Linked DNA regions of Homo sapiens: all the other regions are linked to region 1. The links are contacts of gene promoters, found by promoter capture Hi-C in human tissues and cell types (Jung and others, 2019). All regions are on one chromosome and are shown on one strand. Each heading gives the region's core, a stretch centred on a gene start or on the middle of the fragment in contact. The rest is flanking DNA. Distances are from core to core; before and after follow the strand shown. Region 1 holds the start of RAX (retina and anterior neural fold homeobox). Region 2 overlaps SEC11C (SEC11 homolog C, signal peptidase complex subunit). Region 3 has its middle 22 kb from the start of SEC11C. Region 4 has its middle 17 kb from the start of LMAN1. Region 5 has its middle 37 kb from the start of GRP. Region 6 has its middle 18 kb from the start of GRP. Region 7 overlaps LMAN1 (lectin, mannose binding 1).

Evidence for each region. Contacts are between HindIII fragments. The study calls those that stand out against the background at their distance.
Region 2: a contact is called between a fragment that was not itself captured here and the fragment with the promoter of RAX in region 1, in 3 of the 25 tissues and cell types used here (IMR-90 fibroblasts, aorta and spleen).
Region 3: a contact is called between a fragment that was not itself captured here and the fragment with the promoter of RAX in region 1, in 5 of the 25 tissues and cell types used here (heart left ventricle, liver, lymphoblastoid cells and 2 more).
Region 4: a fragment that was not itself captured here is called in contact with the fragment with the promoter of RAX in region 1 in 4 of the 25 tissues and cell types used here (H1 embryonic stem cells, mesendoderm cells, neural progenitor cells and 1 more).
Region 5: a contact is called between a fragment that was not itself captured here and the fragment with the promoter of RAX in region 1, in 2 of the 25 tissues and cell types used here (mesendoderm cells and thymus).
Region 6: a contact is called between a fragment that was not itself captured here and the fragment with the promoter of RAX in region 1, in 2 of the 25 tissues and cell types used here (mesendoderm cells and thymus).
Region 7: a contact is called between a fragment that was not itself captured here and the fragment with the promoter of RAX in region 1, in 3 of the 25 tissues and cell types used here (liver, mesendoderm cells and thymus).

What each region holds. Positions count from the first base shown.
Region 1 is chr18:59,272,204-59,276,188 of GRCh38, reverse strand. RAX (retina and anterior neural fold homeobox) reads left to right here and starts at 2,735. Exons shown (of 3, transcript NM_013435.3): 1 at 2,735-3,271; 2 at 3,575-3,828. The coding sequence starts at 2,983. The HindIII fragment of the contact is 4,384 bases long and covers 1-2,999 here.
Region 2 is chr18:59,143,369-59,147,353 of GRCh38, reverse strand. The region is part of intron 1 of SEC11C (SEC11 homolog C, signal peptidase complex subunit); the gene reads right to left. Among named protein-coding and RNA genes, the nearest start is that of SEC11C, 5.5 kb to the right of the region's middle. RefSeq lists an enhancer at 2,762-2,811. The HindIII fragment of the contact is 4,425 bases long and covers 1-3,985 here.
Region 3 is chr18:59,159,624-59,163,608 of GRCh38, reverse strand. No RefSeq gene overlaps it. Among named protein-coding and RNA genes, the nearest start is that of SEC11C, 22 kb to the right of the region's middle. The HindIII fragment of the contact is 5,175 bases long and covers 1-3,985 here.
Region 4 is chr18:59,374,735-59,378,719 of GRCh38, reverse strand. No RefSeq gene overlaps it. Among named protein-coding and RNA genes, the nearest start is that of LMAN1, 17 kb to the right of the region's middle. The HindIII fragment of the contact is 3,110 bases long and covers 761-3,870 here.
Region 5 is chr18:59,181,253-59,185,237 of GRCh38, reverse strand. No RefSeq gene overlaps it. Among named protein-coding and RNA genes, the nearest start is that of GRP, 37 kb to the left of the region's middle. The HindIII fragment of the contact is 3,497 bases long and covers 547-3,985 here.
Region 6 is chr18:59,200,040-59,204,024 of GRCh38, reverse strand. No RefSeq gene overlaps it. Among named protein-coding and RNA genes, the nearest start is that of GRP, 18 kb to the left of the region's middle. The HindIII fragment of the contact is 3,947 bases long and covers 1-3,699 here.
Region 7 is chr18:59,349,127-59,353,111 of GRCh38, reverse strand. It overlaps LMAN1 (lectin, mannose binding 1), which reads left to right. Exons shown (of 13, transcript NM_005570.4): 6 at 3,876-3,985. Among named protein-coding and RNA genes, the nearest start is that of LMAN1, 8.1 kb to the left of the region's middle. The HindIII fragment of the contact is 6,352 bases long and covers 1-3,985 here.

The DNA of each region.
Region 1 (3,985 bases), core at 1,486-3,985:
TCCCCCACCCCCATCACCACCACCCCTGCCCTCGCCAGTGGCTGTTGAAGTCTTTTCTGCTTTTTTCCCCAGACTCTGAAACAAACAGTAAATAAAAGCTAACCTCACCTGGACTTATTAGGAGGAGCTGGGCAGTTCCAGAGGAATTAACTTTGGAAAACAAGGCCATAAACCCCTTAGCAGCGTGTGGGCAGGAGCTTAAGGAAACGCTGCCAATCTTTGTTTAGCGGTGATTATCGAGATCAATTTAATATTGGGGAAGTTTGCATAAAAAGCATTCTCGGTCAGAGGGGGAACAACAAATACCAATTAATTATCCCCACAGCTGCCCTCTGATCACCACCACCTCAGCACGTCAGCCACCTGGTCTATGTCACTGGCAGTCAGACCTTTTCGGGTGCCACCAGGCCATTTGTGGGCCCTGGAAAGGTGGAGGAGGGGCGGAGGAGGAGGCAAAACCTGGTCTGTCAGGGGACTTTCCAGAGGGTTTGTTAATTTGCCCTGGATGCCGGTACCCAAAGCCCACTCTCTATAGGCTCTGACTTTATTTCTTCTGGGAGCTAAACTGCTTCTACCTCCGCCTCTTAGATGCAGAATCCAGTCTCAGGGAAGGATTAAAGACAGACTGCAGGCTAAGATGGGCTTTGATTCTTTTCAAAAAGATCACACACTACAATAATAATTACAAATGAGCTGCAGGCAGAAAACACTGGACAAGGAGTCAGTGGCCTGAGTTCTAGTCCTGACCCTTCCACTTAATAGCTGTATCACTTTGAGCCTCAGTTTCCTCTTCTGTAAAATGGGGACCAATATGTCTGTCCTGCTCACCTCACAAGGTTGTGAAGATCAGATGACATGAAGAATGTGAGAAGATTCTGAAACCTACAAAGTGACATGTCGAGAGAATTGCTTGAGCCCAGGAGTTCCAGGCTGCAGTGAGCCACCATCATGCCACTGCACTCCAGCCTGGGCAACAGAGAGGGACCCTGTCTCTAAAATAAACAGACAAATAAATAATAAGTAAATAAAGTAATATGTGAACACTGTAAAGTGCTATTAACTTTCATTAATTTTAGCTTTTTTCTTAAAAGATAATTTCTGACTTGAATTAGTTCAATTTCTATCTCCTGCAGTCACATGCTTGCCCTTATTTTAGTTTGCCATTATATAGTTTTATTAAAAGTAGATATGCCCATCATGGGGAATTAACCATTGAATGATCCTTAAGAAATTGACTTGTCCTCCGCAAACATCCTTCTAACACCAATTTAAAGGTTGGGGATCTGAGGATGTGTGTTTTCCCTCTTCCTTTGTCTTGTCTTCCAGACTGGACGTTAAACTCCACCAGGCCAACGGCCCTGGCCTTTCCCAATTTGTTTGATGCCCACGACGTGGCCCTCGACGGTTGCCTTGCCCTCTAAAGGGACGCAGCAAACGCTTGTCTGAACGCAAGCGGGATAAAGAAGACACCCCTGCTGTGGAGATCAGAGCGCCTACTGAAAAGGAGATTTTAGGGATATTGTCCTCTAGGTCCTTGAGCTTTTATAGGAAAGCATTTTAATTCACGGTTCAGGCCACCAGTTCAGGGAAGGCCAAGCGCTCGCCTCGGGTCTCGCCTCAGATTTGAGGGGTGAGACGTTCACAGCGCCATTGTCCATCCGCGCTGCTGGAGGTGAAACACACTCACCCTATCCAATCATCTTTCCAAGTGGCCGATCAGTCACTGTGGGCCACGGAAGCCTCGAGGGGGTCCAAAGGAGAAAGAACTGCAAGCCAATTACTCCTGAACCCTCGGGGAGGCGAGAGGCCTCTTCCCCGGGAGAAGGTCCTTCCCCAGCCAGCTCTGGGCCATCTCCTTGGCCCGGAGTGTTGGAGGGAGGCGGGAGTGCGACACCGCTGCTCATCAGTAAAGGAGCCCGCCCTCCCCGCAGGACAAGGGGCGGGAGCGAGGAACTCCAGGTGGGTCTCCTGCGGGACCTGAGCCCGGCAGCACATCCGACTCGGGGCTCCCAGTCTCCTGCTGGGCGATCGGGCGCTAGAGGTCACCGGACTTGCGGACATAAATGGCCCTGGGGTGGGCGCTGCGGGGAAGGAGGGAGGCTGCCGGCGCTCAAGTCCGAGGGGACTGGGAGGAGTTACAACAGATATAGACGGACAAACTAAACGCGAGGTCCGGGACTTCGTACAACCCAGCCAAGAAAGGAGTGGGTCCCGAAAAGGGAGCCAGCGAGGGGAAATTCAAACTGCGACGAGTGCGGGGCTGGGAAGCCTTCGGCTGGGTCTCGGCGCTTCCAGGGGGCACAGGCCAGGGTGGCGGCCCCGCGGAGGTGAGCCAGAGGGGGCTAGAGGGGCGAGTCTGAAGCTGGGGAGGGGTGCGTCCAAGGAGGGAGGTGACCCCCAGGGGGTAGTCTGAAGTGAGAGGGTAAGCCCGAAGTAGAGGGAGACAAACGCAAGGGGAGAGATGAGCCCAAGGGCGTCGGCCCCACTGAGGCAGGACTAGGGGTGCGCCGCGACCAGGTTCCCGAGCCCATCAGGCATCCCGCCGCGGATCCCCGGAGTGTGTTTGTAAAGCTTAAAACGGATCAAGAGGTGGAAGGGGAATATTCCTAGTGCCGGCCCAGGGGTGGCCACTAGAGGACCCTGTGGCTGGGCCGGGTGAGGACACGCCCCTCTGTGGAGGGAGGGGCCGAGAGAAGGGGCTGGGTCCAGGGCGAGAGGGGAGGAGCCGAGGGCCAGTTGGCTCCCCGCCTTTAGCGCCGAGAGCCCCAGCTACCCCGAGCCCGAACTTCCGACTTCTGGGACTAAGGCGGCAGCGGGCTGAGCGCTCGGCCACCCCCAGCGTGCGCAGCCCGGGCGGGCTTCGCCCGCGGAGCTTGACCTAGGGTCGGGACCCGTCGGGTTGCACCGCCGCACTCGGGAAGACCCGGCTTCGAGCCTCTCCTCTCCGTCTCCAAAGCGCCCTCCCGCCTCCCGGCGCTCCCCATGCACCTGCCGGGCTGCGCGCCAGCCATGGCCGACGGGAGCTTCTCGCTTGCCGGCCACCTGCTCCGCAGCCCGGGCGGGAGCACCTCGCGACTTCACAGCATCGAGGCCATCCTGGGGTTTACCAAGGACGACGGGATCCTCGGCACCTTCCCGGCGGAGCGGGGCGCCCGGGGCGCGAAGGAGCGGGATAGGAGGCTGGGCGCGCGGCCCGCCTGCCCCAAGGCGCCCGAGGAAGGCTCCGAGCCCTCCCCGCCGCCAGCCCCGGCGCCCGCCCCCGAGTACGAAGGTGAGTGCGCACCCCTGGCTGTGCGAGGCCGTTCGGGCGCCCGAGCTTAGGAGTTGGCCAGACGAGAGCGCCCCTTCCTTAACTTTTATTAAGGCAACTGGGCGCGGGGTTGGGGACCGTCTATGGCGGGAGCTTCCAATTTGCATTCAGAGAAAGCTTAGGACCCATCGCCGCCCTCACCACGGACCTCCCCGGGCCATCTCGGAGCCCGCAGGCGGGCTGGCCAGTGCCCACAGCGAGGCGGGGTCGGCCCAAGGGTGTTTTGGGGAGTGCATCTGACCCTCCCGGGCCTCGTCGCCCCAGCCCCTCGACCCTACTGCCCCAAGGAGCCCGGGGAGGCACGGCCGAGCCCAGGGCTGCCCGTCGGGCCAGCCACCGGCGAAGCGAAACTGTCAGAGGAGGAACAGCCCAAGAAAAAGCATCGGCGGAACCGCACGACTTTCACCACGTACCAGCTGCATGAGCTGGAGCGCGCGTTCGAGAAGTCCCACTACCCGGACGTGTACAGCCGCGAGGAGCTGGCCGGCAAGGTCAACCTACCAGAGGTCCGGGTCCAGGTAAAGCGCCCAGGTTGAGGAACTGGGATCTGGGAGGGCCCGAGGCCCAAATTGCAGCCAATGCTTCTCGGAATTCACGGGTGTCCATGCATTTATTACTGTCCTTCCTCGACTTGGCATGCCCAGAGTCTCAAGGGAGAGGCACAGATCTTCGATG
Region 2 (3,985 bases), core at 629-3,128, 130 kb after region 1:
AATTGAGTTTGGAGTGAGGACCTGGATCACGTGGCTCTGGGCAACATCATTTTCCTCAACTATCCAAATTTAATATTAACTGAGATGGAATGTGGTGGTATGAACTCTTTTTGAGCATTGAGTACAACTTAAAATACAGTTTTAAACACAGTTTAAATACAGTTTAAAATACACAAGGCCTGGAAAAGTCGGAGTGAAAGACACTCGGGAAGTCCAAATGGAGACTTTGCCAGGTGGTTCTACGTGGTTCTGACTTCTCAGTGTCCGGACAGTTCTTTACAGCAGCAGCGCAAGCATCAGCGTGCACTAGGATCAGCTGGCGATGCCTGAGGACTGCACTTCAGACACATTCCCAGGTGACACGAAAGCTGCTGGAGTGGGAATCACAGCTGAGAACCACTGCTCTATACCATTGGTTCTCAACCTTGGCTGCACCTCAGAATCATCGGGGAAGCCCTGGAAAGTCCATCCCAGACCAGCTGGATCACTGGGAGGGGTGGGGTGATTCTGAGGTGCAGTGAAAGTTGAATCACGGCTCTATACCTCCTCCTCCCATCAGCTAAAGACTCTCCCATCGCAAACCCTTCCTCCACCTCACATCCTCCTCCAGCTTTCACACTCTCTTCTCCTTCACAGCTCTTCTCAAAACAGTGTCTACCCCAAGTTGCTCCCCTTCTTCACCATCTATATTCAGTCCTCAACCTACATAGTCAGTCACATGCTCACTAAATCCAAAGGATAACTGTCGGCCCTCACCTTACCTGACCTTCCAGCAGCTCTCAACACACATGATCATTTCTTCGAACCCTCAGCCCCTGCCTTCCAGGATGGCATGCCATCCACTTCTCACCACTTTCTTGTCTTCCTGCCAGTTGCTCCTCCTCTACCTGAATCTCCTCCTCTACCTGAATGCTGGCATTGGTCCCATCAGGCTAACTACTCCCAATTCAGAGACTTCCAACTGCCTACCTGATGTTTCCACTTAGATGTCTTTAAAGATACCCCATCCTCAACATGTCAAAATTAAACTTACCTTCTCCAAAAGCTTTCAGTATTAGGGATCCTTCTCTCAGTAAATGACATTATTATCACCCTGCTGTTTGGAGCCACCCCCTACCCATTCATTCTATACATTCTGGCTTTCCAAACACGTCTGGAGTTTGTCCAGGTCTCTCTATTCCCACTGCTGCCACTCTCATCATATCACCAACGGGGCCCATCAGGCTGCTGTGAAGCCTCATGACAGGTCTCCTAATGCCCATGCACACCTCTTCTGATCCATTCTCTGTGATACACTCTGGGCGGTCATGCGCCACTTCATGACAGACACATTCTGAAAAATGCGTTGTTAGGTGATTTTATTGTTGTTTGAACATCATAGAGTGTACTTATACAAACCCAGATGGTGTCGCTTACTATACCCCTAAGCTATACGATGTAGCCTATTGCTCCTAGGCTAGAAACCTGTGCAGCATGCTACTGTACTGAATACTGCAGGCGACTGTAACACACTGGTAAGTATTTATGTAACTAAACATAGAAAAGGCACAGTAAAAATATGGTATAATTTTTTGGGACCACCATCATGTATGCAGTCCACCATTGATGGAAACATCATTATATGGTGCTTGACTGTACTGGTTTTCAAATGCACATCTGGTCACCTGGTTGTCTATGCCCTGCCTAAAGCCCTTTGATTGCATCCCACTACTCTGAGGATGAAGACTAAACTACAATATGGCCTCTAAGGCCCTGTCTGATATAACCCTGCAGCCCCGCTTCAGCCTGTGAAGCTCGCCTCACCCCAGCTGCACTGGTGGTATCTGTCCATGCTTCCACCTCACATGCTTCTTTCCACCCCAGGGCCTTTACCCAGAAGGCTCCCTCCCTGAACCCCTTAGTTTACCAAACACTCACCTTTACATCCACCTTTAAATGTCAGTGTCCAACAGAACCCTGCCCTGACTGGCTAGACCAGAAATCAGCAAATTTTTGTGTAAAGGGCTAGACAGTAAATATTTTATGTTTACGGGTCACATAGTCTCATTGAAACTACTCAGCCCTGCCAATGTAGCGGGAAAGCAGCCATAGACAATATGTAAAAGAAAGAGCATGGCCGTGTGCCAATAAAACTTTACAAAAACAGGTGGTGCAATGGGGTTTGCCAATCTCCACTCTGGCCAGCCTAGGTCTTCCTATTATATATTCTCACTGCATCCTGTATTTCTTTGTATCGTTCATCAGCATCATAATTAAGCATATAATTACCTAATGTGTCTTTTGCATTAGACCTTACATTCCACAAAAGTAGGGATCATTTCAGCCTTGCTCATAGCTGTATCCTCAAGATTCAACATGGGTTTGGCAAAAGTTAAGTATTCAATTTGTTGAATAAATAGTGATAAAATAAACATCTTTAATGGTGAGTGCAAACAAATCAGCAATAAGAAAAACACTAAAATTCCAACAGAAAAAGGTAAAAGCTTAAAACTATAATTTTCCAAAGGAAAATACAAGTAGTAAATAAACATAAAAAATGTTCAAACCAATAATCCTGCCTCTACCCTCCTTGCAACCCCTTCCTTTTTTTTTGTTTCTAGCAACTTTTTTTTTTTTTTTTTTTTTTTAAGATACAAGGTTTCAGTCTGTGGCCTAGGCTAGAGTGCAGTGGTGCAACCATAGCTCACCACAGCCTCAAACTCCTGGGCTCAATGGATCCTCCCACCTCAGCCTCCCAAGTGGCTGGACTACAGGCATGTGCTGGCATGCCTGGGTAGTTCTAAATTTTTTTCTTTGGTAGAAATGGGGTCTTTTTATGTTGCTCAGGCTGGTCTTGAACATACTAGCCTCAAGCAATCCTCCCAAAGTGCTGGGACTATAGGCGTAAGCCACCACACCTAGCCTTTGCCTAAGAAATTTAAAGTGTCTGGTTTTTTTATTGTTGTTGTTAATACTAATACTTAGTGCTAGCAAGAATACACTGTGATGGGGATACAAATTGATAAACCATTCTGAAAGCTATTTGGCATTAGTATTAAGAGGTTACTCTTGGCCCATAATCCTACTTCTAGGAATTCAGTATAAACTAAAGGCAGGTTGAGAATTATGGCCCGAAGACATTTATTACAGTCTTAATTCTAATAATGTGGAAAAGGAAATAAATGAGCAACAATATGGAAATAACTGAGTAGAAAGTGGGGCCAGGTGCAGTGTGGCTCATGCCTGTAATCCCAGCACTTTGAGAGGCCGAGGTGGGCGGATAACCTGAGCTCAGGAGTTCAAGACCAGCCTGGCCAACATGGTGAAACCCGATCTCTACTAAAGATGCAAAAATTAGCCAGGCATGGTGGTGCATGTGCCTGTAATCCCAGCTACTCGGGAGGCTGAGGCACAAGAATCGCTTGAACCCGGGAGGCGGAGGTTGCAATGAGCCGAGATTGCACCACTGCACTCCAGCCTGGGTGACAGAGCAAGACTCCATCTCAAAAAAAAAAAAAAGAAAATGGCAGATTACTCCACTATTTAAAACAATGCATAAAGAACTTAATGGGAGTGGAGGAGAAAGCGGGTTGGGTTGGGGGAGGAAAATAAAAAGGAACTTTAATGACATGACCAAACACAGTATGTTGAGTGAAAAATGTAAGCTGCAGTAGGATCTCACCAAACGATAAAACAAATACAAAGAGATGCCCCAAGACGCTAAGAGAGGCTATTTTAGGATAGTGAAATTATGAGTCATTGACTTTTCTTCTTTAAACTATTCTCTATTCTGAAAACAAACTCTGACTGATGTAGGAAAAGCAGAGCTCAGAACTGTCTCTTGCTAATGTTAAAACTGTAAAAATAGGTAATTTGAGGCAATAATGAAGGATACAACTGAAAGTGAGGACATAAATGAATTAAGATAATTGTTAATGTATTTTGGTGCAATAAATCAAAATAGGAAAATAAATATAATTCAACATTAAAGTTACACACTTTTTTT
Region 3 (3,985 bases), core at 849-3,348, 110 kb after region 1:
GGAAGACAGTGTGGCCGTTTCTTACGAAACTAGACACAGTCACCATATGATCCACCAATCGTGGATTGTTTCTTGGTATTTACCCAAGTGAGTCTGAAAACTGATGTCCATACAAAAACCCGCACCACTGAGGTTGTGCCACTGCACTCCAGCCTGGGTGACAGAGCAAGACTCTGCCTCAAACAAAAAAAGAAAAAATACATAGAGAAAACTTAAATGTACATTACTAAGTGGAAAAAAAAAAAGCCTAACTGAAAAGGCTACATACCATGATTCCAACTATATGACATACTGGAAAAGGGAAAACTCTGGAGACAGTAAAAATAATCGGTGGTTGAAGGTAGGGAGGGCTGAATAGGTGAAGCATAGGGAATTTTTTATGGCCATGACTCTATTCCGTATGGTGCTATGATGGAGGATAGATGTCATTACACATTTGTCCCAATCCATAGAATGTATAGCACGACGAGTGGATCTCAATGTTAACTATGGACTTTGGGTGATAATGATGCATCAGTGTAGGTTCATTGATTGTAACAAATGAATCACTCTAGTGGGGTGGTAAGTAGTAGTAGAGGCTGTGCCTATGTAGGGGTAGGAGGTATATGGGAAACCTCTATACTTGCCATTCAATTTTGCTATGAACCTAAAACTGCTCTAAAAAATAAGGCCTATTAAAGAAAATATCCTGCAGTATGGCAGAAGCTAAACACTAGTAGGGAAATCATTAAACCTGAGAAGAGGCAGATGACAGACAGTGTTTGGGTGATGGAATGAAGAACAGAGGGAGGCCAGAGGGAATCCTACAGAAGAAGGCCTGGCCACAGCACGTGTGTAGGTAGCGTTCGCTCCCCGCCGGCACAGAACTGGCGCAGAAACAAGACTCAGTGTAAAAGAGGTTTCTGTCCCCCTGCACCATCCTGAAGCTTCATGCAGCTAAAAGCAAGGTCCCTGGGGAAAAAATGTCCCTGCCATAGGATATGTCTGCAACAATCTAGGCGGGCAGATTTAAAATTCAGAGAAAATCTGAGTAGAATTTTATGACCACAGACAACAGAGAAGAGTGTTCAAGAGGATTGGGAGGCTTTAATTAATTCTAAGTGCTCAAACTCAAGTGACCTTGAAGAAGAAATAGTAAAGCTCTGTTTGATTAAATCCAGGCATCCAATAAACTCTTGACCTGCCCTGATGCTAATTCTGGAGATAGGGAAACTGAGTCTGAATTTGTTAAAGATTCCCTGTTTGGTAAGTTGAGGCAGGGCTTAAATCATTGTGTGACTCCCAACTCCTCCTTCTATCCTACCCCACCCCATACTCCTCATTTGAAATGAAGAGAACCTGGCCGGGTGCAGTGGCTCACGCCTGTAATCCCAGCACTTTGGGAGGTCAAGGTGGGCGGATCACGAGATCGGGGGATTGAGACCATCCTGGCTAACACGGTGAAAACTCATCTCTACTAAAAATATAAAAAATTAGCTGGGCATGGTGGCAAGTGCCTGTAGTCCCAGCTACTCGGGAGGCTGAGGCAGGAGAATGGGCATGAACCCGGGCGGTGGAGCTTGCAGTGAGCCAAGATCGCGCCACTGCACTCCAGCCTGGGCAACAAAGCGAGACTCTGACTCAAAAAAAAAAGAAAAGAAATGAAGAGAACCTGATGAACACAAGTGGTAAAGGATGGATCTCAGCCCAGAATCTCAGGATGAGACTAAGTTGATCGCCCAGTGCCCTGGGCCAAAGGCTACTTTGTAAGATGAAGGCTCACCTAGAACTCAAGTGACCATTCAGAGGTTAGCATCATCTTAGTGGGGGAAATGGTGGTGAGAGGATGACACATAGATGCAGTGTGTTTCTGTTTTTTCCTTATGCAATCTGAAAATAACTTCATGAAGCCGAGAAGGAAGATGTGAACAGTCAAGCATCCTAATCACATTTATTCTCAACTAATGTGTGCAGACGTCTGTTTCTCGGTGGTTCTCAATACTGACCACACATTAGTAACCTAGGGAGGTTTTTTTAAAGAACAGATGCCCAAGTTTGCTTCCTCTAAATTAGAGATTCTCTTACCTTGCTAACTTAGAAAGGTTAGGCTTCTTCCTCTTGCCAACAATGCTTCATTTGCCCAGACTTGCAGGGACAGTGGCAGGTCCAAAATCTCAATAGACAGGCGGATTAGTGTCCACAGTCTGGTTGTTGGAGTGTTTGTGCATGTCTGCAGGAGCTCTATTTTTCTAGCATTTGCATAATGTTAACATATTAATTGTCAAGGGGTAAAGGGGTAGAAGAGCAGGACTCAGGCCTGTGGCTTAGGAAATCAACCAGAGGTTCCACCACTCACCTCTTGAAAAAACTGAAGCTCACCCTACCCCGTAGTAGAAACTTGCCAGTCTGGATGAAAACCTAAATTGATCTCAAATGCAGTATGGCAAACGCCATTTAACTTCTTCCTAAGTGTCTTCTTATAACACAGTGTCGCCTTTGTGGATACACCAGGCAGCATCCTGAAATCCTTGCATCTGTTTTTTATAGTTTGTATTCTTCCTCCTCAGTGGGTATTACCTGTCTGGCCATTGTCTACCAGAAACCCTCTACTCTGATGCTTCTAAGCTGTTGCAAAGTGGAAAAGCAGTTGTGTAACCACATGAGAAATGTGTCACATGAACACTGAGAAGCTCCCAATAAGAGGTTCTACCTGATGAATAAACTGCAAGCAGCTTGGATGTTCTAGTGCTGATTTTGTCTGCTCAGACACATCCTTGGTTCGTGTTGATACATTCCAGACACTGAGGCTACAACTGAGAGCCCCAGATAAAAGAACTTCAATCCAACATTAATTGCCATCGCTCCCATTTTATAAGGACCAACAGCATCAGGGAGGTCAAAAGACATCTTTGTCACTAAAATCCACAATTCAATGGCACTGGCTGAGCCCCGTCAGGGTTCTTAGGTGTCTTTGCAAAGCTCATTTCAGAATGTTAGGCATGTTCAAAGAATTACCAAAAAGCTTAGCCATGATAAGAGTTTTTTAAAAATTTAACTACAGAAGCCCAAGAAGATGATAAAATAATATGATTTTGACCCAACATTTTAAAATACCAGTTTTAGGTAAGGGGAAAAAAATCCATTTTTTCTTAAGAAAACAATGTATTAAAGGGCACAAGAGAATAATGTTTTTAGAAAGTATTCTGTAAATCTTTTTTTCTTTCACTTTGCTGATTTCAACAGGATGAGGTCCATTATTGTTGCAATAGCCTATTTTAGTAGAGAGAAAGGATTAAAGGGCAAGCTGTTCCCAGCGGATCACGCCTGCTGGTCCTTACCAAGCCAGGCGCTCACTCAGGAAAATTAACCATACAGGCGTGACACAGGTTTACACTGAAAGGGAAAACATGAGCAACAATAGGGAACGTCTACCGAGCGGATACTGTGGACATGTCAAGGACCATGCGGCTTATTGCTCATGACAGCCCCATTTGGTAAGTGCAGTTCTTATCCTCCATCTGAGGCTGAGGGAAGTTAAGTAACTCACTGGAGGCCACATCGGTGGTTAAGTGACTTTTAGGGCCACTAAATTCTTAGATCAGAATTGAACAAACGTAAAAGAATGAGGTAGATTTGTAAGTCCTGATTGAAAGGATGTCAACATCATTGTATTTGGTGAAAAGAGAACATTTTTGTAAAACTGAAGAGTGCATTTTAAAACATCACTGGCCTCCTTTTGACTCCTCTAACATTTCACTGTGCAAAGTGGGCACCAGCAGCATGAGCATCCTCTGGGAGCATGTTAGAAGTGCGTAGTCAGGCTCACCCCAAACCTCCTGAGTCCACATCAGCAGTGAAGAAGACAGGTGGCTGTGTACTCCTTAAAGTGTGAGAACCCTCTAGCCCGCCAACAGCGCTCCCTTTTCGGGGCCTCTGCACTTGGCTATAATGCGCTTCCCGGGATTTACGTGCTCCACTCCCTCTCATTTCTTTGAACTCTGCTTAA
Region 4 (3,985 bases), core at 1,066-3,565, 100 kb before region 1:
TATGATGTCCCTTCTCCCCGTGCTGGTTCTGTTTTCCTTTGTAAGCACACAGAACTGTGTGAACATCTCAGATGAGCATCATAGAGTTTTTCTCATAAGCCCATCTAATAAGCAGCAGATTTCCCTGACTTCTTGCGTCTTCATTATATAAGGAGGTATTTTCCATTTCCCTTGGTGGAGTCTGTATCTCATTTTCACTTTTTACCTTTGGGCTTGAAAACTCTAAATTTCTTTGAGGTTTGTTTGGGACTCTGCCCTGCCTCTTGCTCATCTGTCTTATTTGGGTTTCAACTCACCAGAGCATTTTGAGCTTTATTCTATCAGATAGATTTCCTTTTGTCTTTTCCACTTTTTGTTGACGTTGGGTGTTTATTTCTTTATCATTAATATAGTTTCCTACATAATCATCCATAGATCCAAATAGGTCCCTTCAGCCTTTATACTTCTATTCCAGAGAATTTTAAGATGAGTCCCCTACAACTGTGAAAGCAGTCCTTTCCCCATTTAGTTTCAGATTTAAAGTGAATCATCTCTTTCCATTCCCTGTGGTCTAAATCTGATCAGTTTAGCATCACTTGCCTTCCTTACACCCTCAAATCTGTCCTGATGGAAGAATTAGCTCAAAAGGGCATGCACCTCATCAGATGCTGAAAACACACCACACTGGTCTTATTTTCCTGGGTAAGAAATCATAGTCAGTCTTTGCCAAAATGTCTTTGCTTTTTATCCTTTTCTGCCTTAACCCAGAAGTTCAATCCTCTCTGCTTTCACTTGTTTCTTGAGTTGGTGATTATGGGCAGCCATACATTGGCCTTGGCGATAAATCATTCCGGCTCCTCTTTCTTGTTGCTCGATATCCAGGAATGTACTGTACCAGATGAATGTCCAGCTGCTTAGACGTCACTCTTATTTATTGCACTTTCATGCTGGCTTCTCTGCATCCTTCAGTAGTCTATGAGCTCCTTCTGGCAGACACTGTATTTTATTGATCTTTATTTCTCCAGCAGCTAGCATAGTGCTCACCTCACAATAGATTCTTAGTAAATATTTAGAGACTGCTGAATGAATATCCCATGATCCCTTACCTTACAAGCCGAGAGACACAATACCCAGGTACACAAGACTCTTAATGAACATGGAAAGAGAACATACAGGTAAGTGTGCAGTGTGGTTCAGTAAGTGTTCAAAGACAGGAAATAAATAAGAGCTCGTAGAGTTTTAGAAGGCTTTGTAGAGAATGTAAGACCTAAATTTGACCATTAGAAAAAAGAGAGCAGCATTGAGGAAGTGACGAGGGCGCTTAAATTTTCCACTCTGTCCCTCTCAAGTTTTCTCATGGGAATGCCTTTGTTTTTCTTTTCCTCTTATCATAGCATCTCCGTCACTGGGTCACCTGCAGTCTTCTCTTCCACCTTTACCAACCTGGTCTAAAAATCCTCTTATAGTGCTTCTCTGTGCAACCCTATCTTATTTTTTAGCCCAGCATGGAGTATCAAGGGCTCTGATGGACAATACAAGTTTTGTCTCCTCTTCCGAAACTCCCTTGGGCCACTCTCACAGCCTAGTGTACTAACTGAGGCTGCCCCTCAGGAAAAACCAGGTTGTGGGGTAATTAGGTCATAGGAAACACTGAAACCAGAAGATTCAGCTGGAGACTAGGCTAAAATTCATAAATACAGATTGGCCTGGCTTGAACTCACAATAGGCTAATTTTAGATCTGTGGATTTGGTCTAGCAGAACAGTGACAATTATATCCTTTCTCTAAACGTTTTGCCTCCACTGGCTTTGGAAGCATTTCTTTTCTATCACTGAGTCATTCAATAGCCATATAATTGTTATGTCCATTTCCCTGGCTCTAACAGGTTTGGGAGCCAGTTACCTTTCCCAGTTCATTAACCGACTGGCCTTCGCATTAACAGCCCCTCCATCGGGGGTTGCCTTGGAGACAAAGCTTCCTGTGGGTAATCCAAGATTATCTAGCTCTTTGTCCTACATGTGACCCTTAATTACTTGCTAAATTAGAATGGTTTTCTGAAAATCACAAGCGGAGGTTAATATGTTCTTCCAGAGCTGGTCAAGCTAAGATGACACTGAATTCACAGGGAATTCAAGTTACATGATCCCTGAAGGCGTCTCTTTGAGTAAGAAGATGAACTCTCCCCCTGGGAGGCACTGCCCCCCCATAAAGCCCCTGTCACTCACTGTCCCTCCGCCTGCTTTTCTAGTTGTGGTTTAATCTTCTCAGGACGATTCACTATGTCAATATTGAGCAGATTCATTCTGGTGCAGGATCCTGTATCCATTTGTCTTTGATAACTAGTTGCTTTAAATTTGAGTACATATTTATATCATAATTGCAGGTTTTTACTCTTTATTTACACAATTACAAGGCTTCATGTACCCATGTGGGACAGGCAAGGGAACTGAAGAAGCTATTAAAATACAGAAAGTAAACACTTTGGGTAAAAGAGTTTGAGCACTAGAGTGTCCTTCCTAACATTTGATAGGCCTCAAAGGGAGATTAGTAGAAAGGGGAACTCTTAGAATGCCCTTAATGAGCTGCCTCTTCAAATGCTTTTTGGAAGTAAGTTCTATATAAGTAATGCAGATATTGAATGAGAATTTCATTAGCAATCATAAATGTAGCTTTACTTAAGATGTTTAGTTATCTAGACTATAATGAAGCTACTGAGTAGAGTTCCAGAAGTTAAAAAAGAAAAAAACAGCAACAACAAAAAAAAACACTGTCTTAAAATTTAAAATATTATGGACAGATCTCAACATTAAAGTATCAAACTAATAATGGTATGTAGCCTGGAATCTCACAGGGATCCTTCCAAAAAGTGTTTAGGAAACCAAACTGAATGGGCTCGTGTTAGAAATAAACATAATCGGTGATTTAACACCTCAAATCATTCACTCAGATTTCCGAAGGAGTCGTTGGCAGATTGCTACAAACCTATTCAATCCAGAGGCTTGACTGAGTACGTATAAAGCTTTGAGTGTTTGTGGTTATATTCAACTGTGTGCCACCTTTAGAAATATTTAAGCATCTATGGTGTATAAGGTGTCATATAGCCCCCATTTTGTTGACCTGTAGTCATCTAAGTAGAAATTAGCAGAGAAGTCCTATGAAAATCACTTTATGACATTTGGTCACATCTATCATTACATATGTGTAGCACCAGAAAATTGACTCTGCCTGTAACATACTTAAATTAGCATCAGAGTACATTTCTTTTAGAGGAAATTTTGGTAAATCCTAGAGTGGTTACCGAGGAAAACTGAGATTGTCTTTGATATTGTTTTAAAGTAGTTTCATTCAGCATTTTCTGAAGTATGATTCTGAAGATAAAAGTCCTGCAGCATGTTAATAAGTGTTACACAAAAAGGATTCTGTGATTAAATAAACTAGGGGAAATGTTGTATTAAAACGAAGTTACTTTTTTAAAAATTTAATTAATTGTTACCACTGAAGAATTTCCAGGAGCTTTTAACACTTAAACGTGCACTATGAAAATTCAAGTCTCCTAAATGTATTTACTTACATAATTTCCGTTCTCATAGTACCCCATAGCATCTCCTGGAAGCAGCGAGTTCTAAGCAGCACACTCTGGGAAACACCTTTATATATATTTCTTAGCCTGCTTTGGCTAATAGGTGCAGATATAACCAATAAAAAAATTGATGATTCAACATCCCAATATCACACCCTCAAAACCTAACTTCAAAAAGATTGTTGAACTCCTTGTTCAATTCTTTTTTTTTTTTTTTTGAGACGAATCTCAGTCTGTCACCCAGGCTGGAGTGCAGTGGCGCGATCCAGGCTCACTGCAACCTCCGCCTCCCGGGTTCAAGCAATTCTCTGCCTCAGCCTCCCAAGTGACTGGGATTACAGGCACCTGCCACCATGCCCGACTAATTTTTTTGTATTTTTAGTAGAGATGGGGTTTCACCATCTTGACCAAGCTGGTCTTGAACTCC
Region 5 (3,985 bases), core at 1,046-3,545, 91 kb after region 1:
CTCACTGCAACCTCCACCTCCTGGGTTCAAGCAATTCTCCTGCCTCAGCCTCCACAGTAGCTGGGACTACAGGTGCACGCCACCATGCCCAGCTAATTTTTGTATTTTTAGTAGAGACGGGCGGGGGGGGTTCACCATATTGGCCAGGCTGGTCTTGAACTCCTGACCTTTTGATCCACCCACCTTGGCCTCCCAAAGTGCTGGGATTACAGGTGTGAGCCACCATGTCTGGCCCTAGCCCTAACAGATATTTTTCCAGCCCGTAAAAATTTCACTTCACGAAGTTCTAGAATAGACTGTTGTGGATAAGTCTTTTTTTTTTTTTTTAGTTGGAGTTGCACCCTTTTTGCTCAGGCTGGAGTGCAGTGGCACGATCTCGGCTCACGGCAACCTCCGCCTCTCAGGTTCAAGCCATTCTCCTGCCTCAGCCTCCCGAGTAGCTAGAATTGCAGGCACGTGCCACCACGTCCAGCTAATTTTTGTATTTTTGGTAGAGATAGGGTTTCACCATGTTGGCCAGGCTGGTCTCGAACTCCCGACCTCGTAATCCACCCGCCTCGGCCTCCCAAAGTGCTGGGATTACAGGCGTGAGCCACAGTGTCTGGCCAAGAAGTCGTCTTTTAACCTAAATGCCACTTTGTAGGTAACAAGTCATTTCTCCCTGATGACTCCAAAGATTTTTCTATCATTGATGTTCTTCAGTTTCACAGATATGTCTAGGTAAAGATTTAATTTTATTTACTTTTCTCAGTACATACAGAATATCTTTATGGTGAGGGTTCATGACTTTATTCAGTTCTGGAGTATTCTGGAATAAGATCTTCAAATAATGCTTCTCTGGAATTTCCTCTTTTGTACTTTCTTGACTCTTTATTGGTGCATGTTGTAGTCTCTCACTCTAGCTTCTGTGTCTACCTGTTTCTTGTTTTTTCTTTCTGTGTCTCTTCGTTTCTCTGGCCTGCACTCAGGAGCATTACGTAGTGTTACCTTGAATGTATTAGTTATCTCTTCACCTGTATCTAGTCTAGTATATCCTATCCCTTGAGTCTTTAATTATCATCAGCATACTTTTATTTCCTAGATTTCAAATTCCTTGTTTTTCATACACTCCTGTTTTTCATCCATTTGTGCCTAATTAATGTTGATTTTTATAGTTGGTTTTCCTTCATTTGCCTTTAACAATCTTAAACATAATGACTTAAAATCCTTTAAACTTTTAATTAATATTTTAATTTCCAAGGGAGTCAGTTAATTAAATTGATCTTCCTGGTATTTATTTTCCTGTTCAAGTTCCGAATTTTGGGTTGTAGTTTCATCTTTTCTAGGAGGCTTCTCTGGTGGCTTTGCTGCTGTCCCCACCGACTCTCCACGTCCCCATAGTAAACAGTCCAGAACCAGCTTTTATAAAAGCCTTGAGATACTGCAAAGCCAGACACAGAATCAGGTAGCAGCGTAGCGAAGGTCCTGTGAGAAAGGATGTGTTAATGTCCTCCTACCTTCCTTTTTGGGCATGCAGCTATGAAAAAAAACAGAACCTTAATCAACTCTTGCTACAGCTTTTTCCAGCCTTTTTATTCACATGGGGGAAGCTTACTCCTGCTTTGCATTCAGTCCAAGACCCTGGTTCCATTTCCCTATCTCATAGCATTCTTCTTTTTATTTTTTATTTTTGTATTTTTTGAGACAGACTCTCACTCACTCTCTCGCCCAGGCTAAAGAGCAGTAGCACCATCTCGGCTCACTGCAACCTCCACCTCCCGGTTCAAGTGATTCTTCTGCCTCAGCCTCCTGAGTAGCTGGGATTACAGGTGCACACCACCATGCCTGGCTAATTTTTGTACTTTTAGTAAAGACAGCTTTTCGCCATGTTGGCCAGGCTGGTCTCAAACTCCTGACCTCAAGTGATCTGCCTTCCTCGGCCTCCCAAAGTGCTGGGGTTACAGGTGTGAGCCACTATACCCAGCCTCTCATAGCATTCTTAATCCCTGCAGTTCCCCAGGAACTGAACCCCAGACTAGCTCTGCCTGTTATAACCAAGAGCCCCGCAGGGCAGCATCTGCTAGTGTTTGGTGCAGAGGTGGCGCTTATGAGACAGAATGTCTTCAAAGCGTTATTCTTGCCACCAGCATCCAATCACCTCCCCATTTTGGTACTCTCCCCAGGCACTCAGGATGGTATTGCAGCAACTCCAAGTGCACTTATACCACATCTTCCCAACCCTCCATCAAAATATATATCCTATATATCACTATCCTGAGCCTTTAATCTCCTCTGTGCAAAATTTAACCTGACTTCTCTAATGCTACCCACATTACAGCTGGGACAAATTACCCTTAAGGGAAGGAGTAGTCCCAAGTGAGATTTTATGTTTGCAGCTGGTATTCCCAGCCAGAGGAAAGCATTCCTAAGGGCCAACTCCAATAATAACAAGACAGAGAATTGCTAACATCTTCAGTGTAATTATTCCAAGGTATCTGAGTTTCCGTTTTATTTTCTTGCAGAATTTAATTATATATTTGATTTCAGCTACTTAAATGTCATAGCTAAAGACACCAGGCTTTGTGTAAGACTGGGAAATTAAAGGATTACATTCATTAATTCATGTTATTTAATATTTACACGTTTTGGCAAGATATTCATTGGTCTAAAAAAGTTTGGGCCAGACATGGTGGCTCACCCCCGCAATCCCAATACTTTGGGAGGCCGAGGCAGGAGGATCACGTGAAACCAGGAGTTCAAGACAGCCTGGGCAACAAAGCCAGACCTTGTGTTTACAAAAAAAATTTTTTTAATTAGCCAGGCATGGTGGCACATGCCCGTAGTCACAGGTACTGAGTGGGGGGATCACTTGAGCCCACGAATTTGAGGCTGGCAATGAGCATTCCAGCCTGGACAACAGAGCGAGACCCCATCTCTTAAAAAAAAAAAAAAGAGTTGGTGTTTATTAAAGTCACTGCTACCCTTTCAGCAAGCAAAGATCGACTTAAATTCCCACACAGGGGAGGTTTTACTTTCGCATATTGCAGGAACCAGGTAGTGTTCTAGTGCATGCTGACCCATAATTAATTTGCAGGCTCACACAGGAAAACCACCAAAACGCCTTGGTACTGGACAGTAAAAATGAGGTGTTATGGATAGATTTGTTTTTTTTTTTGGAGATGGATTCTCACTCTGTCACCCAGGCTGGAGTGCAATGGTGCAATCTTGGCTCACTGCAACCTCCGCCTCCTGGGTTCAAGCAATTCTCCTGCCTCAGCCACCCAAGTAGCTGGGATTAAGGCACCCGCCATCACGCCCAGCTAATATTTTTGTATTTTTAGTAGAGATGGGATTTTAACATGTTGGCCAGGCTGGTTTCAAACTCCTGACCTCAAGTGATCTGCCCGCCTCGGCCTCCCAAAGCGCTAGGATTACAGGGGTGAGCCACTGTGCCAGACGGATTCATTTTATTTTTTCACTTTTTGAGACAGAGTTTCACTTTTGTTGCCCAGGCTGGAGTGCAATGGCGTGATCTCGGCTCACCACAACCTCTGCCTCCCAGGTTCAAGCGATTCTCCTGCCTCAGCCTCCTGAGTAGCTGGGATTACAGACATGCGCCACCACACCCAGCTAATTTTGTATTTTTAGTAGAGACAGGGATTCACCATGTTGGTCAGGCTGGTCTCAAACTCCTGACCTCAGGTGATCCACCCACCTCGGCCTCCCAAAGTGCTGGGATTACAGGCATGAGCCACCGTGCCTGGCCGGGATTCATTTTTTAACTTAAAGTAATATTTATTATTGTTGTACTCATGCGTAGTTTTTGGCTCCAACAAATTAACCTCCTGTGTGTATATCACCAATATCACCCAACAGTGGCCAGAGAAGAAGCCCTGAATCCATCACCGAGAACCCCAAGGCCTCAGGGTGAGTAGCAATAGAGAGTCACCTCTGCATTCTTTCAGGTCCACATATTTTTCACCAGAGCTTTTCATAAGTGGGTACA
Region 6 (3,985 bases), core at 477-2,976, 71 kb after region 1:
TCCACAATCTTTCCACCACTTGTTTGAACCTTCAGCTTTTCCTAACTCAAAACAATCCTTTAACCATAGGCAAAAATGTACATTTCCATGGCTTTTTGTAACCTTTTACTAAAAAACACATTTTACTGTTCTTACACTCCTTGCATGTAAATTTATTTTCAGTAGTTTCAATTATACATTATAATGGTAACTCCTAGCAATTTTTAACTTTGGGGTAAAATCTGGTAAGTTGCTTTAATTGTGTGCTCAGTGCAGCCAAAGTTGCCTTCTTAATTAAGGGTGTGGTTAGTTCTACATGTCCCCAGGCCCTACCAATTGTGAAGCCGGCAAGTCAAATAGTTTCCCAAACTCAAAAATCAGTTTGTAACCTCAAAACATTTAGCAAACCTTGCACCTGACCTGCATTTTACCAATAGTCTTTAGAGCTGTTTTTATTTCTCAAAGATTAAAGTCATGTGAACTGAAAGGTACCACAGCTTTTAACTTCCCTTAAAAAAAAAAATGCTTGATTCAAGCACTCGTTTTTCTTTAGGCCAAATTAATAGAGCTCTTTTTACAGACATCACACACAATACACACACTGACAGGCAGAAGAAAACCCAGTCCCCACAAGATCCTTTTTCACAACCAAAACTTTACGGAGAATATAAACAGGGGCGCTTATCATTCCTAGCCTAGCAAAACTTCTTCTGAAAGAAAAAACCTCACTAAATGGTAACTGCTGATGGGGTGGAGAAGGTGAAGGAAAAAAAAAACAGTTTAAAAATGCCTGGGGAAGAACTTCTTATTCTTATGTAACTGGTTTCTCCACAAGGAGAAAAGTTTAATTACTGTCCAATGGAGTAAAATCCCTTGGCTGGGGAAGAGGAAGGCTGCATGGCACGTGGCTGGGAACCAGCCAGCTGGCTGTGTGGGACCCTTGGGCCATGGGTCCCAGCCCCAGCAAGGAGCGGGGAGCAGTGGCAAGCCGGCTGCTCACCAGGTCCATCCTGAAAAAGGAAGGTAAGGCCATGAAAAGGCTCCTAACCCCCGGGAGCGACAGGAGTTGGGAATGTGATTTCCCATAAGCTCAGAACTCCTAGGATGAAAAGGCTCCAAAGAGAGAGGGGAAAAGAATTCTTGGTTTGCATCTCACTCACCACTTCTCAAGCCCCACGTTGGGTGCCAAAAATGTTGCAGGACTTTTCCTTAGCTCAGCTAAAGATGGTGTTCTTGTCCCATGGCCACAAAAATGTAGGCTCACAGACAATTTGATGCATGAGTAAAGCAGGGTTTTATTTGGTGAAAAGGAAAGTAAGTGGGAACAGGGACTCTCTGCAAGGCCAGAGTTCTCTGCTGCTGCACTTCCCACCTTACAGATTGAATCCCAGGTTCTATGCAGGAAGAGGAGGGGCCAGGCTCTTACCCACTGCAAATGGCATGAGCTTCTGGAGGCTCCACCCCACTGTGCAAGCCAGCTGGAGTTTTGCCAGGGACCCCCTCCCACCTGGCCATCTCACTAGGAAGAAAAGAAGGCAAGGTTCTGTGATCTGTACTATGGTCACCCATTTCAGTGGCCTGAAACCCAGCTTGGGGAAAAATAAAGCTGAGTGTTTCACCACAGAGCTGTGTGTCATTCTTATTGTTTTAGTAATGCCATTACTAGTGCCATATACTAAGATGTAGTTACTTTCCATGGAAAGAAAACTTTCTAAGATAAACAACAAATTTCAGCTGTACTTCATTTGCACAGCTACAAGGCTTTTTATCCAGGTCACACTAAAGCTTCTGGAGAACGGGGACTCTGGAGTTTGACTCCTAGGTTTGCTACTTATGAGCTTATGTGTGACCTGGAGCAAGTTTCTTAATCTTTCTGAAGTATGAATTCCAAGAAAATAATGACACCTACCTTGGAAAGTTGTTCTAAGGATTCAATAAAATGCTGTATACTAAGAGCTTAGCATATTTCTCAGTACATTACAAAGTACTCAATAAATAAGATTTCCTATCATTCATATGAAGGAAAAGTCCCTCTTGCACGTTTCAGTTGTCTTTTGCATAATGAGCACCTCTGCCCTCTTCTTCTCCTGGTATTTACAGGGAGGCAGAGGTTTAGTAAATGTAAATACCACTTGGGTAGATGCCAAATCCTCCTCCATGGTCCTGGCCTTCCCAGGGACCAAGTCCTCCTTCATCAGTGGTGTCAAAGAGAAACAGCAGGACAGCTGTTAGAGGTGGCAAGATTGATTTTATTCAGTCTACTCCAGCAGGGGAGAGAGGGACTTTAGTATAGAACCAAACTCAACTCCACTGAAATAACAGATGGGAGACTATTTATTTAGTTTTTGGAGAGATGGGATCTCACTGTGTTGCCCAGGCTGGTCTTGAACTCCTGGCCTCAAGTGATCCTCCTGCCCTGGGATCCCAAAGTGATGGGATTACAGGCATCAGCCACTGTACCCAGCCTAGGCTTTTTAAACCGTAGGTTGGATTGTGCTAAAGGAAAAGTACTGAAGAATGTAAAAGTGGGGCGGCGGGGTGGTCAATGTGATTAGCCATCTGTGTTTGTTAATTAGTGCTTATCTGGAGGAGAAACAAATATCTCATATCTTTATGGCAGGAGGTAGTTTTGCAAATTGGAGCAAGGCACCCACTGAATTTGGTCTGTTACCCTCCCACAGAGACCGGGAGACAAGGGAGCTATGTCCCTAGATGTTTGCATTTCAAAGCCATGGTTCCCAGGTCCTCTGGGTGGAAGGAGATTCTGGGTGGAAGGAGATTTACATCTCAAAGTGGCAGAGAAAGGATTTATAATTGTAAGTTTTCTAAAGTAACTGCTCTAAGCAAAAGGAGGGCAGGGGCCTATAGTTGTTTTAGCTGGAACAAATTCTTTAGGCAGTATTTGAGACTTCTCAGGCAGGCACTTTAAGAGGGACTGGGCTCACAGTCTTGGGCTGATAGAAGCCATCCTAGAGTTTGGTCAGGTTTCTTAGTGTGGGGAGGTTGGATGGAGTCATTCGTGCCTAGAGGTTTGCAGTTGTGAGTGGACATGACTTCCTTGTGGACCAAGGCCTCCCTCTACTGGGAGGAGAATCTCAAGGCGTCTTATGGGCCCAGTTGGACTGACAAATATCTTCACCCTTCATTAATCCTCATCAATCACACTGAGGGTGTGCCAAGAGTAGTTACCTGTTAATAGATGGCTTCTAGTTTTGAGACAACATCTTTTCAAAAGACGGTTTAAACATTCCTATAAAAAATATAGTCTGAAAGGGAATATGGTAAAAATTAAAGTTCCCCATTCCTTCATGTCCGACACCCTAGAGTTGATCATTACTAACAGTTTGTCTGGTATTTTCTGAAAGCCTATCACATGCCAATGAGGCAGATACTCTTATTATTTCCATTTTACAGAAGTGGATACCAAGGCCTCTTTCACATTTCCATGGTGACCAGCTAGTAAGTAGCAGAGCCAGGACTCAAACCCCCACAGTCTGACCACAGAGGACCTGCTCTTATCCACAATGACATGTGTGGAAGCTTTTATTTTTTCCTCTTTCAAGTCAGATCACATTCTATTCTTTTTTTTTTTTTTTGAAACAGAGTCTTACTCTGTTGCCCAGACTAGAGTGCAGTGGCACAATCTTGGCTCACTGCAACCTCTGCCTTCCAGGTTCAAGCAATTCTCTCACCTCAGCCTCCCGAGTAGCTGGGATTGCATGCACGGGCTACAACACCCAGCTAATTTTTGTATTTTTAGTAGAGATGGGGTTTCACCATGTTGGCCAGACTGGTCTTGAACTCCTGGCCTCAGGTGATCTGCCCACCTCGGTCTCCCAAATTGCTGGGATTACAGATGTGAGCCACCACACCCAGCTGAGATCACATTATACTCTGAAGCTTGCTCTGTTCACTAAACAATATGCTAAGGATGCTTTCCCACCACTACACATAAACCTGCCTTACTCTTTTGAAGGAATAGTATTCCTTTGTATGAAGGTATTAT
Region 7 (3,985 bases), core at 554-3,053, 78 kb before region 1:
AATTTGGATATGCTTACATACTCTTCATTGTTACTCTAAGAGAACGGAGGTGGCTTCACAGCTCAGTGTAAGTGGTCATCTGTTGTAAACCCCTGATGGTATGTTTCCATTTAGTCAGTAAATGTTTAAGCCCCCTACTGTATAGCACATGTGAGAGATATATATATCTATAGATAGATAGATAGATAGGTAGATAGATAGATAGACGGATAATCTCCAAGCCTTCAGGATACAAATATGAGTAAGACAGATGGACTTTCTCCCCAGAGAGCTTATAGCCTAACAGAGGACACACAAATGTATCATTCCTATGCTGTGTGATAAATGCTGCGTTGCAGACACTATCAAGCGGTCCTGTGGTTAGAATCCTGTAACTGCCAGGTGGAGGTGGGGAAGGGCAGGAACATTTTCTCAGAGTTGAGCTGTGCCCTACAGGGAGATCAGGAAGTTCCTGGGAGTTGGGGGAAGAGGGTGTGTGTGTGTGCGAGTGAGTGGGTGTACTCCAAGCACAGAAAGCAGGCATAGGCCCTTGAGAGAGCTTGAAATATTTTGGAAAGGCATGTAGTTTGGTGTGGCTGGGAGATAGAAGAGATCAGTGAGCAGTGAGGTTGAAAGGGCAGTAACAGGCCTTGCACAGCTTCCTGTAGTTTAACCCATAAGAAGCTTTTAAAAATGTTTAAAGGGTTTTAAGCAGGAAGTGAAATTATCAGATTTGCAATTTAGAAAGATGACTTAGGTCCCAGTATTCTTAGTACCAGTTTTCTTGGGGTTAGGGGTGAACACAGTTGTTGAGTCAAGGAGAGTTCCTGAATATAGCCAATTGGACAGCTAATTGGTACTATTTACTAGCAAAGAAGCAGCACATTTGTTTGTGTTTTATCTGTTTGGGGGAGGAATGGGAAATCAGAGGGTTGGTAATGAGTTTAGTTGTAGGTAAATTGAGGTTAGCATAACATATAGGTGGAGATATCTAACTGGCAGTTATGATAACTAAGATCACTATGCATTGTAAACTTTGCTTTTTAAAGATGCCATTAATACCTGGTTATATAATACTTAAAAGTAAAAAAAATAGTGTATGAATTTTTCTTTCACCTAAATCATGAGCTAGACTTACACTCCTGGGTCTAAATCTCTGAGAAAGTTAGTTCTGTGGAAAACTGTATTGGCTTAGTCTTAATTCCAAGCTAATTTAGAGATCTTAGAATAGAGCAAGTGTCCAATGTATTATAATTAGCTTGGGTTTGAATTCCACTATAATTATTCACCCTGTACAGTTTCATTAGAGTCATCAGTAAGTCTTGCTTACCTGCATGTAGCAAAGCCCAGACATCAAGCATGGTGGGTGCAGACTGTCCGTGTGACCCAACACCGTGAGGCTGTGAGCCCTGGCAGCACTCCAAAACAATAGCCTTGCAAAACGTACTCCCCAGAAAGGGTTCCACAATTGATGAGATTGGTCACTACTCTGCATATTAGCACATTAAAGATTTCTTTATGAAGGATCCTTTATAAAGAAAGGATAAATAAACCTTTATTAGACCTCACATTTCCCAGACTGACTTAACTATGGAATTTTTTTTCACCTAATGTCTATGAGTGATCATGGAGCTAGTGTTTTCAGGTACACGTTTTGAAGAGACTGGCTGGACACGTGACTGCTACTTATTGGTTTTCACCTCTCTGTACATCTCAGTCTGGTAATAATTCCTTTTCTTTCTACTTGTTAAAGTCATACTTAGCTTTGAGCACACAAATTCAGATCCCTTTTCTATCAGATTTCCTAAACAGCTCATAATGATCTGTCTCTCCTAAACTCTTAGAGTATTTTTTTTTCTCTAATGCTTATTTGGCCTTGAGATATGTTGTACTGATTTGCTTATTAACTATATGTATATCTCTTCTTATCAATATGATTGTAAACTTCTCACAATAGGCATATCCTGTATTTCTCCTAGTTCCTAATATTGTGCCAATGTGAAGTGCTCAAGAAGTATTTATTTTCATGAGTACTTGCACCCTAGCTTGTCCCAGTTGTTTCCACATTGGAGGGAAAAACAAAGTAAGAGGAGGTTGAAAGCAATAAGTGCTGTTGGTGGGGGAAACACAGCCAAAGCAAGAGATCTTAAATATTGCAAGTGTAGTCTTTAACAATGGTTTGAAACCATAAGGTGAATAAGGAAGGTTATTGATGATCTCATAAAGAAGTAATAATCAGTGGACAGTTTGTACCTAGGCTTTCAGTTACAGTCCTTCCTAACATTCCTGCTAACTCACAGTACAATGAAATGTGTTACGTCCTTTAAAAAAAAATTGGGGCCGGGCGCGGTGGCTCACACATGTAATCCTAGCACTTTAGGAGGCCGAGGCGGGCGGATCACGAGGTCAGGAGATCAAGACCATCCTGGCTCACACGGTGAAACCCCGCCTCTACTAAAAATACAAAAAAATTAGCCAGGCTTTGTGGCGGGAGCCTGTAGTCTCCGCTACTCGGGAGGCTGAGGCAGGAGAATGGCGTGAACCCTGGAGGCAGAGTTTGCAGTGAGCCGAGATCACACCACTGCACTCCAGCCTGGGCGACAGAGCGAGACCCTGTCTCAAAAAATAAATAAATAAATAAAAATAATTGGAACTAGACAATGAAGACTCATGCTGGATTTTCAGTTTGTTAGAATTCAAGGAAAAAAATACTGAACAATTGGAGGATTTTAGTATTGTAATTTGAATGTAATAATCTACAGTCTTTTTAAGACTCAAAGGCAAATAACTTCCTGATTGTTGATTCTAATTTAAAAGGCTCTGTGGAGGAGGACCAGTTGTAAATGATGTAAAATGAAATAGGAATATTACTAATCACAGGAAACATATTAATATGAACCAAATGCTAAATGATCTTTTAAAATTAATTATTTTAAACTAATTTTTAGTTCACATGTTTCCATTCTACAGTATATAGAGAGTAACTCTTCATATTGACAGATTTTATTCTCTTGCTGAAAATTTGGACAGAATACCAGAACATTTTGCCTGTGTGACTGAATCTTAAGTCTCTGACAAAATTTTGACTCTAGAAGTAATGACTCAAGTTCCCTTACTCTGGTGCCTTGGGCCTTCTCCTGCAACCACCCTGAACCTCAGTGACTGTTGTTTAGGGTGGGACTCGTGAGAGGATTATTAGAAATGAAATGTATTGAAGAGGCTGAACCACTGCTTGACTGGGATAATGAGAAAAGCATTCATGTGTCAGGTGGATTCCTGTGCTTGCCTAGGATTCTAAGATTCTGTTAAGAAATTTAGGATCATTCCTTCAAATATACATTTTGCAAAGTAGAAACGTACATCTTTTTAGTTTTTTCCTTCTCTGCCTTGTCAGTATGACTTCTGTCACTTTTGTTCTCTGCTAACCTGTGACAGTCCAGATACCTCACTAATTTAATTAAGAGGAGCTCACTACTTGTTGAGACAATCTGTTTAATTCTCAACCAGCTGCAGATAAAATTGTAAATTTAACCTCTTGGTTTTAGCTGTCACTGGGATCTGAGAACAAGTCTGATCCCTCTGCTGCATGAACCATTCCAAGGGAGTAATGATGACTCCCTAGGTCTTCTTGAGAGAAGGCAAACCATATTCCATTTTAGAAAGGTTTTCATAGAAAGTTATCAGATTTTTCTCTCTTTAAACTTTTGACACATAGTGGGGCAAAACTCATTTTTTTAAGTAAAATATATTGTATATTGACACCAAGTAGGAAACGTTATTTAAAATTACTCTTTATAATAATGAAACAAAACTGAATAGTAGTCATAAAATGGATCGATTGAAATTTATTTTCTAATGTCTTTTGCAAAAGCTATAGCTATGATATGTCTTTCTAGGTAATGATCAATAATGGCTTTACACCAGATAAAAATGATTATGAATTTTGTGCCAAAGTGGAAAATATGATTATCCCTGCACAAGGGCATTTTGGAATATCTGCTGCAAC